Linked DNA regions of Homo sapiens: region 2 is linked to region 1. The links are contacts of gene promoters, found by promoter capture Hi-C in blood cells and fetal thymus (Javierre and others, 2016). All regions are on one chromosome and are shown on one strand. Each heading gives the region's core, a stretch centred on a gene start or on the middle of the fragment in contact. The rest is flanking DNA. Distances are from core to core; before and after follow the strand shown. Region 1 holds the start of CD79A (CD79a molecule). Region 2 holds the start of ARHGAP45 (Rho GTPase activating protein 45).

The links. Contacts are between HindIII fragments. The CHiCAGO score rates a contact against its expected background, and 5 or more counts as called.
Region 2: the fragment with the promoter of ARHGAP45 here is called in contact with the fragment with the promoter of CD79A in region 1 in 1 of 17 cell types (non-activated CD4 T cells); the score reaches 5.9 in non-activated CD4 T cells.

What each region holds. Positions count from the first base shown.
Region 1 is chr19:41,872,768-41,880,695 of GRCh38, forward strand. CD79A (CD79a molecule) reads left to right here and starts at 4,512. Exons shown (of 5, transcript NM_001783.4): 1 at 4,512-4,616; 2 at 6,223-6,522; 3 at 6,768-6,886; 4 at 7,903-7,928. The coding sequence starts at 4,538. RPS19 (ribosomal protein S19) reads left to right here. Exons shown (of 6, transcript NM_001022.4): 6 at 1-158. RefSeq lists enhancers at 592-841, 3,177-3,246 and a silencer at 4,654-4,713. The HindIII fragment of the contact is 1,040 bases long and covers 3,948-4,987 here.
Region 2 is chr19:1,065,917-1,073,844 of GRCh38, forward strand. It overlaps ARHGAP45 (Rho GTPase activating protein 45), which reads left to right and starts at 1,251. Exons shown (of 23, transcript NM_012292.5): 1 at 1,251-1,579; 2 at 2,498-2,828; 3 at 7,233-7,376; 4 at 7,590-7,674; 5 at 7,758-7,830. The coding sequence starts at 1,490. RefSeq lists enhancers at 694-1,200, 3,391-3,550 and silencers at 1,061-1,820, 2,131-2,370, 2,901-3,000. The HindIII fragment of the contact is 10,211 bases long and covers 8-7,928 here.

The DNA of each region.
Region 1 (7,928 bases), core at 3,262-5,761:
ACCTGTAATCCCAGCTACTCAGGAGGCTGAGGCAGAAGAATCGCTCGAACCCCGGAGGCGGAGGTTGCAGTGGGTTGAGATCGAGCAATTGCAATCCAGCCTGGGCAACAGAGCGAGACTCCATTTCAAAAAAAGAATCAATAAAAATGTTAAAAGCACCGTTGTTTACACTCAGCAACTCTGTGAAGTAAGTGCCGAAAAGTGCTTTGGAGGTAGGTAAAGTAAGCCATAGGCTGGGTAACTTGCCAGATATCCCACAGCTGGAGCCATCATATGAACCCAAGCAACCCAGCTGCAGCCTGGACCTAGCCACTCCAAGGGCTCTGTGCCTCAGAAAAGAGGCCCAAAGGGTTGCACTCTAGCTGCAGGCCAGTCACTCCCCATTCTGGGCTCTAGTTTCCTCTTTTGGCCATTAATGAAAACATTTCCCAGAGCTGACATGAGAACTCAATGCCAAGCGTCCGGTTTGCACAGCAGCAGGCATTGCGCTTCCCAGGTAGGAAGCAAGGTCTAGGTGTCCCGAGCAGGCCTGCAATCCCGCAGCCGCGCCGCTCCAGCCACTGGGGAGCAGTAGAGGGCCTAGAAAGAAGCTCAGCCACCGAAGGCTCTTGAAGGTGAATTCCTAGGGCTTCCAGGTCTGGAGCCAGGCTTATTCCTGGGAGGGGGTTGTAACGGGGAATTGAAGTGCAGAGGGGCTAGTGACCCCAGCAGAACACCTGGGGTCCTGGTTCCCAGGGCTACAGAACTGTCCTAGATACTGTGCCAAATGCACTGCAGAATATTCTTGCAGTCTTATCAAGTGGGGGGTTTGTACCCATGTTATAGGAGAAAAAACTGAGTTTCAGATGACCAGTCAGTTGGCAGAGCTGAGTTGTAAAAGAATCCTGGACTCTTGAGGCCCAGGCTCTTCTGCGTGGATGGGAATTGCCCTTTTCCCATCTCCTGGGTTCACGCCATTCTGCCTCAGCCTCCCCAGCAGCTGGGACTACAGGCACACGCCGCCATGCCCGGCTAATTTTTGTATTTTTAGTAGAGACGGGGTTTCACTGTGTTAGCCAGGATGGTTTTGATCTCCTGACCTTCTGATCCGCCCGCCTCAGCCTCCCAAAGTGTTGGGATTACAGGCGTGAGCCACCGCGCCCAGCTGGCAATTGCACTTTTTTAAAATTCTGCACTCTAGGAGGCAGAGGTGGGCAGATCACTTGAGGTCAAGAGTTTGAGACCTTGGCCTGGAGTGGTGGCTCACACCTGTAATCCCAACACTTGGAGAGGCCGAGGCAGGTGGATCACCTGAGGTCAGAAGTTCGAGACCAGCCTGGCCAACATGATGGAACCCTGTCTCTACTAAAAAATACAAAAATTAGCTGGACGTGGAGGCAGGAGAATCGCTTGAATGCAGGAAGTGGAGGTCACAGTGAGCCAAGATTGCACCATTGTACTCCAGTCTGGGCGACAAGAGTGAAACACCGTCTCAAAAAAAAAAAAAAAAAAGAGTTTGAGACCAGCCTGGCCAACATGGTGAAACCCTGTGTCTATGAAAAAAAAAATTGGCTGGGCATGGTGGTGCACACCTGTAATTCCAGCTACTTGGGAGGCTGAGACAGGAGAACAGCTTGAACCCAGGAGGCGGAGGCTGCAGTGAGCCAAGATTGTGCCGCCACTGCACTTCAGCCTGGGCAACAGAGCAAGACTCCATCTCAAAAAAAAAAATCTGAAATACTTCAGGCATGCAAGTATTTAGCATTCAGTATTCATAATGTAAGAAAAACCTATGAAGCACAACCCAGTTTAAGTAACACAGGCAGGGCAGGGTGCAGTGCCTATAATCCCAGCACTTCGGGAGGCCAAGCTGGGAGAATCACTTGAGGTCAGGACTTCCAGGCCAGCCTGGGCAACACAGTGAGACCCTGTCTTTACAAAAAATTTAAAAAATAGGCCCAGTGCGGTGGATCATGCCTGTAATCCCAGCACTTTGGGAGGCCGAGGCGAGTGGATCATCAGGTCAGGAGATTGAGACCATCCTGGCTAACACGGTGAAACCCCATCTCTACTAAAAAAATACAAAAAATTAGCCGGTCATGGTGGCATCTGCTTGTAGTCCCAGCTACTCAGGAGGCTGAGGCAGGAGAATCACTTGAACCCGGGAGGCGGAGGTTGCAGTGAGCCAAGATCACACCATCGCACTCCAGCCTGGGCTACACAGCGAGACTCTGTCTCAAAAGAAAAAAAAAATTAAAAATAGCCAGGCATGGTGTGTGCACCTGTAATCCCAGCTACTTGGGAAGCTGAGGCAAGAGAATCACTTGAGCCCAGGAGTTTGACGTTATGATTATGCCACTGGACACCAGCCTTGGTGACAGAGAGAGGCCCTATCTCTAAAAAAGAAAAAAAAAAAAGTGGCCAGCCACGGTGGCTCCCGCCTGTAATCCCAGCACTTTGGGAGGCTGAGGTGGGTGGATTACCTGAGGTCAGGAGTGTGAGACCAGCCTGCCCAACATGGTGAAACCTGGTCTCTACTAAAAATACAAAAATATAGCCAGGCATGGTGGTGGCCGCCTGTAATCCCAGCTACTGAGGAGGCTGAGGCAGGAGAATCACTTGAACCTGGGAGGCAGAGGTTGCAGTGAGCCAAGATCACGCCACTGCACTTCAGCCTGGGTGACAAAGCGAGACTCCGTCTCAAAAAAAAAAAAAAAAAAAGTAACACAGGAAATAAAACCAAGACAAGATGAGCTCTCTGTGTCTCTGTGTGTCCCTCCCCAGACCCAACCCTGGCGTCCCCCAGAGGTAACCCCTCCCAGGAACTGGGCGTTTGCCACTCCCCTGCACGGGTCTACACCTCTGCTACAAACGTGTGTCCCTAAGCAGCGGACGCCTTTTGAAAACAAGTCAACTGTATCATGCTACGATATTTTTTCTGATGTTTGTGCTGTTTCTGAGACAGCCTTATGACACCTTCCCCTATTCTGTAGCATTCTGTTGGCTCACTTTGCCACAGTGTATGCACCCATTCTCCCACAAATGGACTTTTCATTTGCTTCTCAATGTTTGCTACCAAAAATCTCCCTGCAATAAATTTATTTTATATATCCCCTTGTATGTGTGTGAGGGTCCCCTAACTGCTCACAAATATCTCAGCAACTCCGCCCTCCCCACTCAGACCTCATTTCCCTCCTACCAGACATGCTCAAAGGAAACTGGGAGCAACACAAAGATGACTTTGAATCTCTGTCCACCACCCCTAGACTGTATGACACCCGCAAGTGACAACCTCCCCTCTCTGGCCTCGGTTTCCCCCTCTGTAAAATGGGGGATGGCCTACCTTGCCAGTCATGGCAGGTCAATATAAAACAACTTCTGGCTGTGCACAGTGGCACATGCCTGTAATCCCAGCACTTTGGGAAGCTGAGGCAGGAGGATTGCTTGAGGCCAGGAGTTCAAGACCAGCCTGGGCAATATAGCAAGATCCCATCCCTCTTAAAAAAAAAAAAGAAGAAAAATATATGTTGTTGTTGTTATTATTGTTATTATTAGAGACAGAGTTTCGCTTTTGTCACCCAGGCTGGAGTGCAATGGTGTGATCTCAGCTCACTGCAACCTCCACCTCCTGGGTTCAACTGATTCTCCTGCCTCAGCCTCCTGAGTAGCTGGAATAATAGGCATGTGCCACAACATCTGGCTAATTTTGTATTTTTAGTAGAGATGGGGTTTCGCCATGTTGGCCAGGCTGGTCTCAAACTCGACCTCAGGTGATTCTCCTGTCTCAGCCTCCCAAAGGGCTGGGATTACAGGCATAAGCCACCATAGCTGGCCTGTTTTTTTAAAAAAAGAATTCCAGTAAAGAGCTGATCATGGTTCTCACTCCTTGAATACCAGGAACACCATCTCGTATCACATAATGAGACAGGGAGACATTCTGGTCCTCATCTCACAGATGAAAAATGTCAAGCTTCGAAGGATCAAAGTGCCCACCTAGTCACACGGGTAGTCAGCCACAGGTCAGCCTGCCTTATTTATTCTTCATGAGTATTTATAGTGACTAACATTTACTGGGCGCCTACTGTGGGCCATTTCTGTGCATGTGACAACCCCTTTAAGTCCTTGTTTCTAATCCCAAGAAGCAAGGAAATGGGGTCAGGGAAGGGACAAGGTTTGCCCAAGTCCAGGCAGGGGGAGAGGTCAAGCTCAGAACCATCACCTGCCCATGACACATGCCCAGGACTCAGGTTCCCTAGGCTTCCTTCCAAAGGCTCAGCAGTGACGAGCCAGCCCTTGAACCAGCCTCTTCCCCCACCCAAGCAGCCACCTCTCAGGGGAATTGTGGCCACCACAGGTGCAGGGAGCAGTTTCTCTCCACTCACAGCCTGAAGCATACCCGGCAGGGGCTGTCCCCAGGCCCAACAAGCAAAGGGCCCAGTAGCGAGGGCCACTGGAGCCCATCTCCGGGGGGCTGGGCAGGAAGTAGGGTGGGGTTTGGGGTAGGGATCTGGTACCCTGGGACTGCTGCAACTCAAACTAACCAACCCACTGGGAGAAGATGCCTGGGGGTCCAGGAGTCCTCCAAGCTCTGCCTGCCACCATCTTCCTCCTCTTCCTGCTGTCTGCTGTCTACCTGGGTATGTGGCCAAAGGGCAGGAACTGGCGGGAGGTGGGGGAAGCTGTGGAGGCTGCAGAGAGGGCACAGGCAGAGGGAAGGGGGCTCAGGGAAAGGGGAAGAGGAGGCAGAGGATAGGGGACCCAGGGAAGATGCCTATAGAAATCGTATCTGTGCCAAGATGGGCCAAGGTGGGGCTGGAGGGAGCCCAGCGAAGGAGAAGGGGCGTCCACAGTCTCACACAGGGAGGCAGGAGCAAGAGTCACCTCCCCCACCTCCTGTTCCCCACAGGCCAAAATAAGGAACTAAAGTTGCTCTTGACTGAGCACCAGGGCTGGGGGCAGGAAGGGGACTTAGGGGTAGCAGCATTCAGCGTCTGTCAAGGGGAGAAAAAGCTTTCTCTGCCTTAAACCTCAGGTGCCTCTCTCTGTTGGGAGTCCCTTCTCAGCACTGGGGGAATGGGTGTCTCATGGACTCCCCCTCACCTGCTCAAGGACAGCTGGCAGGGGCTGTGGCCACGCTAACCCAGGAGTTCAGAGAAAAAGGTTCCCCACCCAAGGGGACACTGGGAGCAAGGATTGGAGTTCACGTCTGAGTCTTAAGCCCGTGACGATGAGGGTGCTCGGCCCCTCTCCCCATCTCTTCCTCCTTCTCTCTTCCTCACCTCCCTCCTCCACCTACCTCCAGAAGAGGGGACTGGCCATGTGGGAGGCCTGGCTGAGAGCTGGGGCTTCCCAGAGGAGCCCGGATTGGACACTGCAGCCAGCCTGAGCCGCCTCGTCTCACTCAGAGACACCCCCAGTCTCCACCCCGCTCTGAGCCCCTTCAATCACCAGCAGCCCAGCCCAAGGACTGAACTCACCCCTGACCCCTAGGTTGACACATACAACTTACAGAGAATGAGGGCCAGGCACAGGGTCACAGGCCAGGGCAGGCCACAGACTGGCTCCTCAGCCCAGGCAGGGAGAGGCCAGGGAGCCAAGAGTTTGAACCCAGTGCCACTCCTGACTGCCTGGTGATGCTGGCAACCCGCCTGCCCTCCCAGAGCCTCAGCCATCCCTCCTGTAAAATGGGGCTAAGGAGAGAACCTACTTCTAGGGTTCTGTGAATGATTACACAAGAAAAAGCGCCAGGTGCTGGGCCTGGCTGAGGCTGGGGTGCAAAAATGGACCGGGAAGGCTGCGGGAGGAGGGGACGCCTGCACTGCTTCTGGAAGGAGCTGTCTGGACAGCGGTCCTCCAGTGCCTGGAACAAACATCCAAAATCCAGAGAGTTCACAGGGCCAGAGTACAAAGTGGGTATGCGGGAGGGGGGCAAGAGATGGCGCTGCAGAGGTGAGAAGGGCCTCCCAGGGGTCTTACCATCCCAGGGAGTCTCATTCTCCTCTCCCAGGATATCCTCACCCACCCCAACCAGGTATGTCCTCTCTCCTTCCCAGGGGCTTCTTCACTTTCCCGCATCCCCCCTCTCCCCAGGATGTATCAGCCCCTGTCAGGGGCTCTCTCTCTCCCTCCCCACCCAGGAGAGTCCTCACCCTCTTCCCAGGAGTGCTGGAACTGCAGGGGCCAGGGCTGGGGAAATGTGTCACCATCCCCAGTCCCTGACCCACCCACCCTGTCTCTCCACAGGCCCTGGGTGCCAGGCCCTGTGGATGCACAAGGTCCCAGCATCATTGATGGTGAGCCTGGGGGAAGACGCCCACTTCCAATGCCCGCACAATAGCAGCAACAACGCCAACGTCACCTGGTGGCGCGTCCTCCATGGCAACTACACGTGGCCCCCTGAGTTCTTGGGCCCGGGCGAGGACCCCAATGGTACGCTGATCATCCAGAATGTGAACAAGAGCCATGGGGGCATATACGTGTGCCGGGTCCAGGAGGGCAACGAGTCATACCAGCAGTCCTGCGGCACCTACCTCCGCGTGCGCCGTGAGTGGCCCAGCCCTGGCCCCTACTCCCACTGTCCCGCTGGGGACACTCGGTTTATCTTTGAAGTGGGGATAGAGCCAGTACCTTCAATGTGGGTTTCAAACCGGCTTGGACAGAGGGACGGACATTCTCCTCTGCAGAGTGGGGTCTCTGGGGGGTCTGGGGCCTTGCAGGAGGTGGGCGGGGCCAGGAGGCTAGGGAGGGCAAGAGGGGCCAGGGCTCTGAGCCATACTACCTCCTTGCAGAGCCGCCCCCCAGGCCCTTCCTGGACATGGGGGAGGGCACCAAGAACCGAATCATCACAGCCGAGGGGATCATCCTCCTGTTCTGCGCGGTGGTGCCTGGGACGCTGCTGCTGTTCAGGGTGAGCCCCCTCGGACCTCTGAGTCAGCCGGGCGAGGGCCTGGGCCGAGGGACCCCCAATACCCAGGTAGCCCTCTAGAGCCTGAGGTTCCCCATCCAAAACTTGGGAGAATGAAAGCACCCACCATATAGGGGCTGTGGGAGTTAAATGAATGAATATAAAGAAGGGACTTGAACTGGCGCTGAGCCCAGGGGGTGTCTTCAATTTAGTTTCCCCTTCTGGGCTGTCCTCACGTCCACCTCCCCCCAAGAAGAGTCTCATTCTTCTCCCTAAGAGTGTCCTCACTCCCCTCCTGCCCTCACCCAGGAGTGTGGTTACCCTCCAGGTGTAGCCAAGACCAGGGAAGGTGGGGCCTGGTCCTCCCAGAATCTCTGATCTGTACCAGCCTCTCCTTAGGCACTACAGAAAGTGTGACTGTTATTGTTATTATTCATGGAGAATAGTAAGGGAGTGGAGACTCAAGAAGACGCTAGCTTGGGAGGCCGAGGCAAGAGGATCACTTGAGGCCACAAGTTTGAGACCAGCCTGGGCAACACAGCAAGACCCTATCTCTACACACACAAAGTCTTAAAAAAAAATTAGCCAGGCATGGTGGCACACACCTATAGTCCCAGCTACTCAGGAGGCTGAGGTGGGAGGATTGCTTGAGCCCAGGAGTTCAAGGCTGCAGTGAAATATGATGTTGCCACAGCACTTCAGCCTGGGCAACTGAGGGAGAAGAAAGAGAGAGAGAGAGAAAGAGAGAGAGAGAGAGAGAGAGAGAGAGAGGGCGAGAGGGAGGGAGGGAAGGAAGGGAAGGGAAGGAAGGAAGGAAGGAAGGAAGGAAGGAAGGAAGGAAGGAAGGAAGGAAGGAGAACACTGGTTGTAGACTCAGAGAGAACTGTTACATAACCAGTATGTGGCCTTGGGGACATCTCTTACCCTTTCTGGAAAAGTACTTCCTGGCATCCAGGAGGGTCTGAAAGATATTCACCTCCCCCTGCTCACTGAGGCACCCACCCCACCCACCCCTACAGAAACGATGGCAGAACGAGAAGCTCGG
Region 2 (7,928 bases), core at 1-2,500, about 41 Mb before region 1:
CCTGGGAAGCTTACAGGAGCCCGGTGTCCCGGAGCACAGGCCAGGGCCGGGCCAGAAGCCCATCCGACATCCAGCTGACCCTCACCCTCTGACCCCAGCCCTCAGCGCCATGAGTCGGGGGCAAAGAGTTCTCAAGGGTCTGCTGGGCTGGGTTTGCACTTGGACCTGGGCCTGGAGAGCCAGACTTGGAGCAAGGGGCTGTGGCCTTCATGTCCTGTGCCCCAGAGATCTGCCCCTCCCACCCGAGGTAGGTGGGAATGGGGTTTGGGAAAGGAAAGAGGTTGGGGTTTTGGGATTGGGGGTGGGGTTCTGGAAGGGGACAGCAGGGAGACTTGGGGAGGGGGGAGAGAGTTCACACTGCGGGGTGGGGGTTGGGGGAAGGTAGGAGGCTGGGATCTGTATGCCTGCAGATGCCCCAGCTCTTGGCCAATGCCGCCTCAGGCTGTTATCAGCAACGGGTGCCTGCGTCCTGCTGCCCAGCACGTCCGGTGGTCCAGAGTCACTGGAATGCAGCTTGGGAGGCGGGGCTGGGGACCTTAGCTAAGGGCAGGTCTGGGGCAACATGATATGGCCCACAGGGCTGCTGAGAGGTAACCAGGTGTCCTCAGCATATTCTGCCGATGGTGGGGTCCACACCACACTTTGGGGACCCCTGTGCAGGCAGCCCAGGACCAGGTGGACGTGGGGACCCAGACGGACGTGGGGACCCAGACGGACAGGGCCCGGTAACCTGGATTGTTCTGACTTCCTGGACGTCTTTGCCCCCAGGGTTTCGGTTCTGGGCCTCAGTTTCCCCACCTGTCCTCGACCTGACCCACTTCACGGGGCTGCAGGGCGGGTGATGGGGGGGACCCTACTCTGCCCGGCCCTGCTGGGGCCCGGCCACACCCTAGGGTCTGCAGGAGAGGCGGTGGAGCGGGCTTGCCTTCAGGGAAAAGGGGGCTGCAGGGGCGCAGCTTCGGCCTGTGCGTGTGTCTGGGGTCTGAGGGCGAGGCTCCAGGGGCTTGGTGGCGTCTGAGCGCGTGTGGAGGTCCGGGTCTCTGCGTGTCATCGTGCACGTGTCTGTGCACGCCCACTCGCGTCCGGGAGTGAGAGTCAGCGCCCTGCAGTCGGCCGCCCCGTGCCCGCCAGCGTCAGGCAGGGGCTCCCGGTCCCACCCCGCGAGCGGCGCGGCTCCGAGCTCCCGAAGGCGGAAGCGGGGGGCGCGGCCCGGGGCTGGGGGCGGGGCCTGCGACCTCACCTTCGCGCCCACTCCGCAGAGCCGCAGGCTGAGGCCGGGAAGGGTCGGGGGCGAGGCCGCGTCGCCGCCTCCCCGAAGCCTTTTCCTGTTGGGGGGAGGGCCCGCCAGTGACGGCCGGGCCTGTCACGTGGGCCTGACAGCTGGGGAGGGGGTGGCCGGCGACAATGTGGTCCCGAAGCGGCCAGCGCCGGGAGCTGCAGCGCTGAGACCCCCAGCCCGCCCCCTCGGGCTCCCGGCCGGGGCCCCATCATGTTCTCCAGGAAGAAACGAGAGCTCATGAAAACCCCTTCCATCTCGAAAAAGAACCGCGCGGGAAGCCCCAGCCCGCAGCCCTCGGGGGTGAGTGGAGCCCGGGTGAGACCCGGAGCTGACGCCGGGCCGCAGGGGGACAGGGACCCGCCCTGTGCTCGGGGCTCATGCTGGGGCGGCGGCTGGGGGCTCGTGCCAGCTACAGCCCCTACCGGGCGGGACGGCAGGGGCCACAGCAGAGAGGCCGGGACCCCGGCATTCAGCTCACGGTAGGGACCCTGGGAGTGGTGGCCGCCTCCCTCCACTCCATCCAGGGCTGGCCGCGGGGCCCAGGGAGCAGGAAGGGAGGGTGCCGGGTTGGGACGATGTTGTGTTTGGGCCGCTGCAGGTTGGGGGCTTAGGCAATCTGGGGGCTCTAGGGGCCGTTGAGATGGGAGGGCTGTGGCCTGGCCATTGGGCTGAAGGTTGACCGGGCAGCAGATCCTCTAATGGGATCCACCAGGTTCAGAGGTTGGGGAGTGTCCCCAGGCCTGGGGTGTCTACAAAGCTGGGGGGGGGGTCTACAGAGCTTGGGGGTCCGGGATGTCTACAAGGCCTGGGGCTGCCCATAGGCTCTGGGGTTCCATGGACCTTTAGGGGACAGACAGAGTCAGAAGTGTGTTCACTTAAAGCACCTGCGTTGTAGGAGCCTGAGGGGGGCTTGAAGGGCTGAGGACCCTCCCCACCCCCACCAGGAAGTGGGGACCCCCCTCCCGCGCCTCCCCGCAGGCCCCGCCCCGGCTGTGGTTTGGGCAAGGACCGTTGTTTGTGAAAGCTCTAGGGAAGAGGATGTTGGGTAACAGGTGGGGGGGTACACTACCAAATCTCGGCCCTGTGACCTCTGGCCTTTGACCCCTGTGGGGTCAGGGTGATGGTGGCCCTCCACAGCCCCACTTCATTTCTGGGGAAACTGAGGCCGTGTCCAGGCCGGAAAATCCCTTTAACGAGCTCCCCTCGGACCTGCCCAAGGAGCTGCCCAGGAAGGATGGGGCTGACGCGGTGTTCCCCGGACCAAGCCTGGAGCCGCCCGCTGGGTCCTCCGGCGTCAAGGCCACAGGGACCCTCAAGCGGCCCACCAGCCTGAGCCGCCACGCCAGCGCGGCTGGCTTCCCCCTGTCGGGTGCTGCCTCCTGGACACTGGGCCGGAGCCACCGGAGCCCACTGACAGCCGCCAGCCCGGGCGAGCTGCCCACCGAGGGTGCCGGCCCGGACGTCGTCGAGGACATCTCCCATCTGCTGGCGGACGTGGCCCGCTTCGCTGAGGGCCTTGAGAAACTTAAGGAGTGTGTGTTGCGTGACGGTGAGAGCCACGGGGACACCGAGGCCTGGGTGGAAGACAGAGCCAGACCCAAGGGAGGATGGAGGGAGGGACTTGGGGAGGCTCAGAAGGGAGGGAGGCTCAGATGGCAGGGAGGGCTGTGTGGAAGAGGCCATGACAGCTAAGGCTCTGAGGGATGTGTAGGAGTTTGGTGGGGGAGTCCCTGAGCGTACACTGGCTCAAGAGGGTGCCCACTTTATTTTTTTTAAAGGATCTGATGGCAATTAGGAGGGAAAGGCAGAGGAAATGTCCCATGCACAGGCTCAGAAACACGGAAACAGAGAATGCATTTGGGGGCCAAGGTGTGGGGTGCCGCTGGTGTAGGATGAAGGCATGACAACGCCAGGCAGAAGGGCAATGGGGAGCCATAGAAGGTGTTAGAGCACAGGACAGATGGGGGCAGATCTGTGTCTTGGAATGAAGCAAACTGGGGGTTGGCTGAGGTCTGGGTGGAGAGAGATTCAGGAGGCATGGCGAGGGGCAGGATGGGGTCATCAGGCGGCGGAGGTGCTGGGACCCAGCGGCCTGCAGGCCGGCAGTTCCGTTTTCTCCTCCACGCGGCCGCTGACAGCCCTGCTTCCTGCCGAGTTATTTTCATCTGCTTCCTGTTTGTCCCTGGCAGCCCAGGCGGGCACCTCATGTGCTGCCTTCAGCCCCCGGCTCCTCCCAGAAACCACAGTGCCAGGGTCATGCCAGGCGCTCTGATCTGCTCCCAGCAGCCGCCCATTTTACAGATGACGAAACTAAGTCTCTAGTGAGGCCCTGACCCCTGGCTCACCCAGCCAGGGCAGGGCAGAGCCAGGACTGGACCTCAAGTGGTGGAGTGGCCTCTGCACCTTCAGGGCACTAGTTGGGGAAGGCCCGGTCCCCACTGGGAGGAGTGGGAGCCCCCGGGTTATCTGGTCCCAGGGGCGGGGGCTAGGCTGCTTTCCTGGGGAAACCCTAATCTCGGTTCCTTTCCGATCCTGGCGCTTCCTTGGAGGCCTGGCCTGGGCGGGGCTCAGCTCCCAGGCTCCTGCAGGAGGTCTGAACTGGGCCAGCCAGGGTGGGGCACTTTTTTTTTTTTTTTTTTGATACAGGGTCTTGCTCTGTTGCCCAGGCTGGAGTCCAGTGGTGTGATTGAGGCTCACTGTTACCTTGAACTCCTGGGCTCAAGCCATCCTCCTACCTCTGCCTCCCGAGTACCTGAGACTACAGGCATGAGCCACTGCACCTGATTTATTTTATTTTATTTATTTTATTTGAGATGGTGAGATGGAGTCTCACTCTGTCGCCCAGGCTGGAGTGCAGTGGCGCGATCTCGGCTCATTGCAACCTTCCTCTCTCGGGTTCAAGTGATTCTTCTGCCTCAGGCTCCCGAGTAGCTAGGACTACAGGTGCGTGCCACCACACCTGGCTAATTTTTGTATTTTTAGTAGAGATGGGGTTTCACCATATTGGCCAGGTTGGTCTCAAACCCCTAACCTCGTGATCCGCATGCCTCAGCCTCCCAAAGTGCTGGGATTACAGCAGGCATGAGCCACCGTGCCCGGGCTTTTCTTTTTTTCTTTCTTTTTCTTTTCTTTTCTTTTTTTTTTTTTTTTTTTGAGACAGAGTCTCACTCTGTCACCCAGGCTGGAGTGCAGGGGCGAGATCTCAGCTCACTGCAACCTCCACCTCCTGGGTTCAAGTGGTTCTTCTGCCTCAGCCTCCCGAGTGGCTGGGATTGCAGGGGCGCGCCACCGTGCCCGGCTAATTTTTTTTCTTTCTTTTTTTTTTTTTTTTAGTAGAGATGGGGTTTCACCATTTTGGCCAGGCTGGTCTTGAACTCCTGATCTCAAGTGATCCACCCACCTCGGCCTCCCAAAGCGCCAGGATTACAGGCGTGAGCCATCGCGCCCGGCCAGTTTTTGTATTTTTTGTAGAGACCGGGGTCTCCCCATATTGCGCAGGCTGGTCTAGAACTCCCGAGCTAAAAACCGTTCTCCCGGCTCCGCCTCCCAAAGTGCTGGGATAACAGGCCTGATCCACCGCGCCCGGCTGGGGGCGCCTTCTGTGCGTCTCGGGGCCGCCCCAGGCCAGAGAAGACCCTGGCGGCTAGGATGTGGGCTCTAGTCCCGATGTTTCTCAGCTGCTGAGACCCTGGCAAGCCCCTTCCCTCTCTAGGTGTCAGGTGACTTATCTATAAAATGGGGCCACCTGCATGCAGCGATGGTTGTGGGGTCCACCCCACAGCTTGGGGACCCGCGTTCAGGCAGCTAGGAGGGGACCCACATGGACGGTGCCACCCCGACACTTCCCGGGCTTCCTCGTTCCCGGGCTTCAGGTCTGGGCCTCAGTTTCCCTGCCCGTCCTCGACCCTCCCCACCTCGAAGCTCTGCGGTTAAGGAAGGACCCAGGCTGGGGCGAACGGGACCCCAGGGCGGGGTTTCCCTCGCGGGGGCGGGGCCTCCTGACCGGCCGGAGCCGGTTTGGCCACCGGAGACCCCCATCGGTCAGCTGCCAGGCCCCACGCGCTCGCGGTCTCCGCGCCCCGACGGCTGCGCCATGTGTATCTGCGGGACGGCGCACCCGGTGCTGGACGAGGGCCCCGTGCGCTGCCGGGCGGGCCCCCGAGGTGAGGGGACAGGTGCCGGGCGCTGGGTCCCGCCGCGTCCGGGAGCACGTGGCGCTCGGGCCGTTTGCCGCCCGCGGTGGGGGAGCAGCGGCTGCCGCGCGCCTGGCCTGGCCGTGCGCACCTGGGCATCCCTGCGCTGCGCAGGGGTCGCGCCGGCCGCCGGCTTCCCGGGTAGGGGGTGTGCGGGGACAGCCGGGGGTCCGTGCGCCGGCCGCGCGCGGAGTGCCGGGTGCCCGGCTGGAAGGTCCCGAGAAGGGGCGTGGCCGGGGCCTCCCAGCGGCTTCCCGGAGCTCCTGGAGCCCCAATCCCATTCCCGGAGTCCGCCTCGCATCCAGCAGCGAAGACATGTTCCGGTCCGGGGTCTCAGGCCCGGCGGCGGCCAGCGGGGTATCTCTGGCGGGTGACTCGGTCGGTCTCTTCCCGGAGGTGACATTCACCTGGGGTCTTCGGTGCCGAAAGGGATGGGGCACTTACTTTTTCAGATTTCATTTCGTATTTGGGGCATCCTCTGAGCGGTACAGTCAGGCGTCAAAGCTGCCCCTCCCGCTGGCCTCTGTCCTCCCGGGTACCTTTCCCCTCCTACGAATTCCGTGGGTTTGTTTCCACTACGTGGTGTGTGCCTGGCTCTCGATGTTTCGCCTGTACTCTCTGCTTTTTTCTTTTCTTTCCTTCTTTTCTTTTCTTTCCTTTTCTTTCTTTCTTTTCTTTCCTTTCTTTTTGGGATGGAGGAGTCTCACTCTGTCACCCAGCTGGAGTGCAGTGGCGCGATCTCGGCTCACTGCAACCTCCGCCTCCCAGCTTCAAGCGATTCTCCTGCCTCAGCCTCCCGAGTAGCCGGCATTACAGAGGAGTGCCACCACGCTGCTACTTTTTGTATTTTTAGTAGAGGCAGGGTTTCGCCATGTTGGCCAGGATGGTCTCAAACTCCTGACCTCAAGTGATCTGCCTGCCTCGGCCTCACCAAGTGCTGGGATTACAGGCATGAGGCACTGTGCTTGGCCCTCTCTGCTTTTTTCTTCTTCCAATTGAGAACGTTCGATGAGGGCATTTAGCTTTTTATTCTTTATTTTATTTCTTACAGAGACAGGGTCTTACTGTATTGCCCAGGCTGGTCTTGAATTCCTGGGCTCAACCCGTCCTCCTGCCTCAGCCTCCCAAAGTGCTGGGGTCACAGGTGTAAGCCACCACCCCTGGCTGAGGAGGGCAGTGAAAGCCAGGTTCCAACAGTCAGATCTGACCTCCTCTGTTCTAACACCTTCTATGGCTCCCTATTGCCCTGGAGATAAAGCCAGGCAGGATCCCTCTGCCTGGCGTTCTCACGCCTTCAGAGCTAGCGTAGATGGAAAAGCTGTGTGATTGTTGAGAAATGGCTTCCCCTCTCTATGCCTCAGTTTCCTCACTTAGGAAGGGCAGAGAGAGACCTGGACAGGGCTTTGAGCAGTCCTGAGGAGTTAGGGCAGGGAAGGAGCCTGGTGGGCTGCATGGAGGAAGGGGCTGCAGGACTGTAGCTTGAAGGACAAGAGGCAGTTTGCTTTCTGGAGGGACAAGAAAAGAGTGTTCTGAGCAGCAGAGTGCCTAGGCCAACGTCTGGCCTTTGTTGATCTGGCCGGTAGCCCAGGGAGGGACAGTGCCCTCCCCGCGGTCTCGAAATGAGCCCCAGGCATCTGCCGTCTTCCACCTCTGCCTCAGTTTCCCCATCTGGGAACAGGAGCTCTAAAGAGGGAGGAGGTGGACAGACTTTCCCTGGGACTGGGCCCTACCCCACTGCTCACTCCGACTCTCCCCAGCAGACCTCCTTGAGGCCCGCCGCCCGCGGGCCCACGAGTGCCTGGGTGAGGCTCTGCGTGTCATGCATCAGATCATCTCCAAGTACCCGCTGCTGAACACCGTGGAGACGCTCACCGCAGCCGGCACCCTCATTGCCAAGGTCAAAGGTCAGCCTGCTGGAACAGGGCTGCGAGGGCTCTCTGCCTAGAAGGGCATCCTGGAGGAGGGGATGTTTGAAGTGGGTTTTGAAGGATGCATAGGAGTTTGACAGGCACAAGCTCCCTCCTGTTCCCCCTGGGTTAAGGGCTCCGGTCAGTTCTTGCAGGGATGGTCACCTCCCAGAGTGGGCCCACCTCCTTGTCCTTATCTCTGCTTCCCAGCCTTCCATTATGAGAGCAACAATGATCTGGAGAAACAGGAGTTCGAGAAGGCCCTGGAGACGATTGCTGTGGCCTTCAGTAGCACGTGAGCACGGGAGCCTGTGGGGCAGGGCAAGGGAGCGTGGGGGGCCCGGGTGTCTCTCGATGGTGACCTCGCTGGCCCTGCAGAGTGTCCGAGTTCCTCATGGGTGAAGTGGACAGCAGCACCCTCCTAGCAGTGCCTCCTGGGGACTCGAGCCAGGTGAGTGGGGTGGGCCAGGGCCACCTGTGTCCAGCTTCTGGAGGCCAGCCGGGTTCAGGTCTGCAGGGCCCAGACAGTCACCCTGCTTCCCCTGTGCG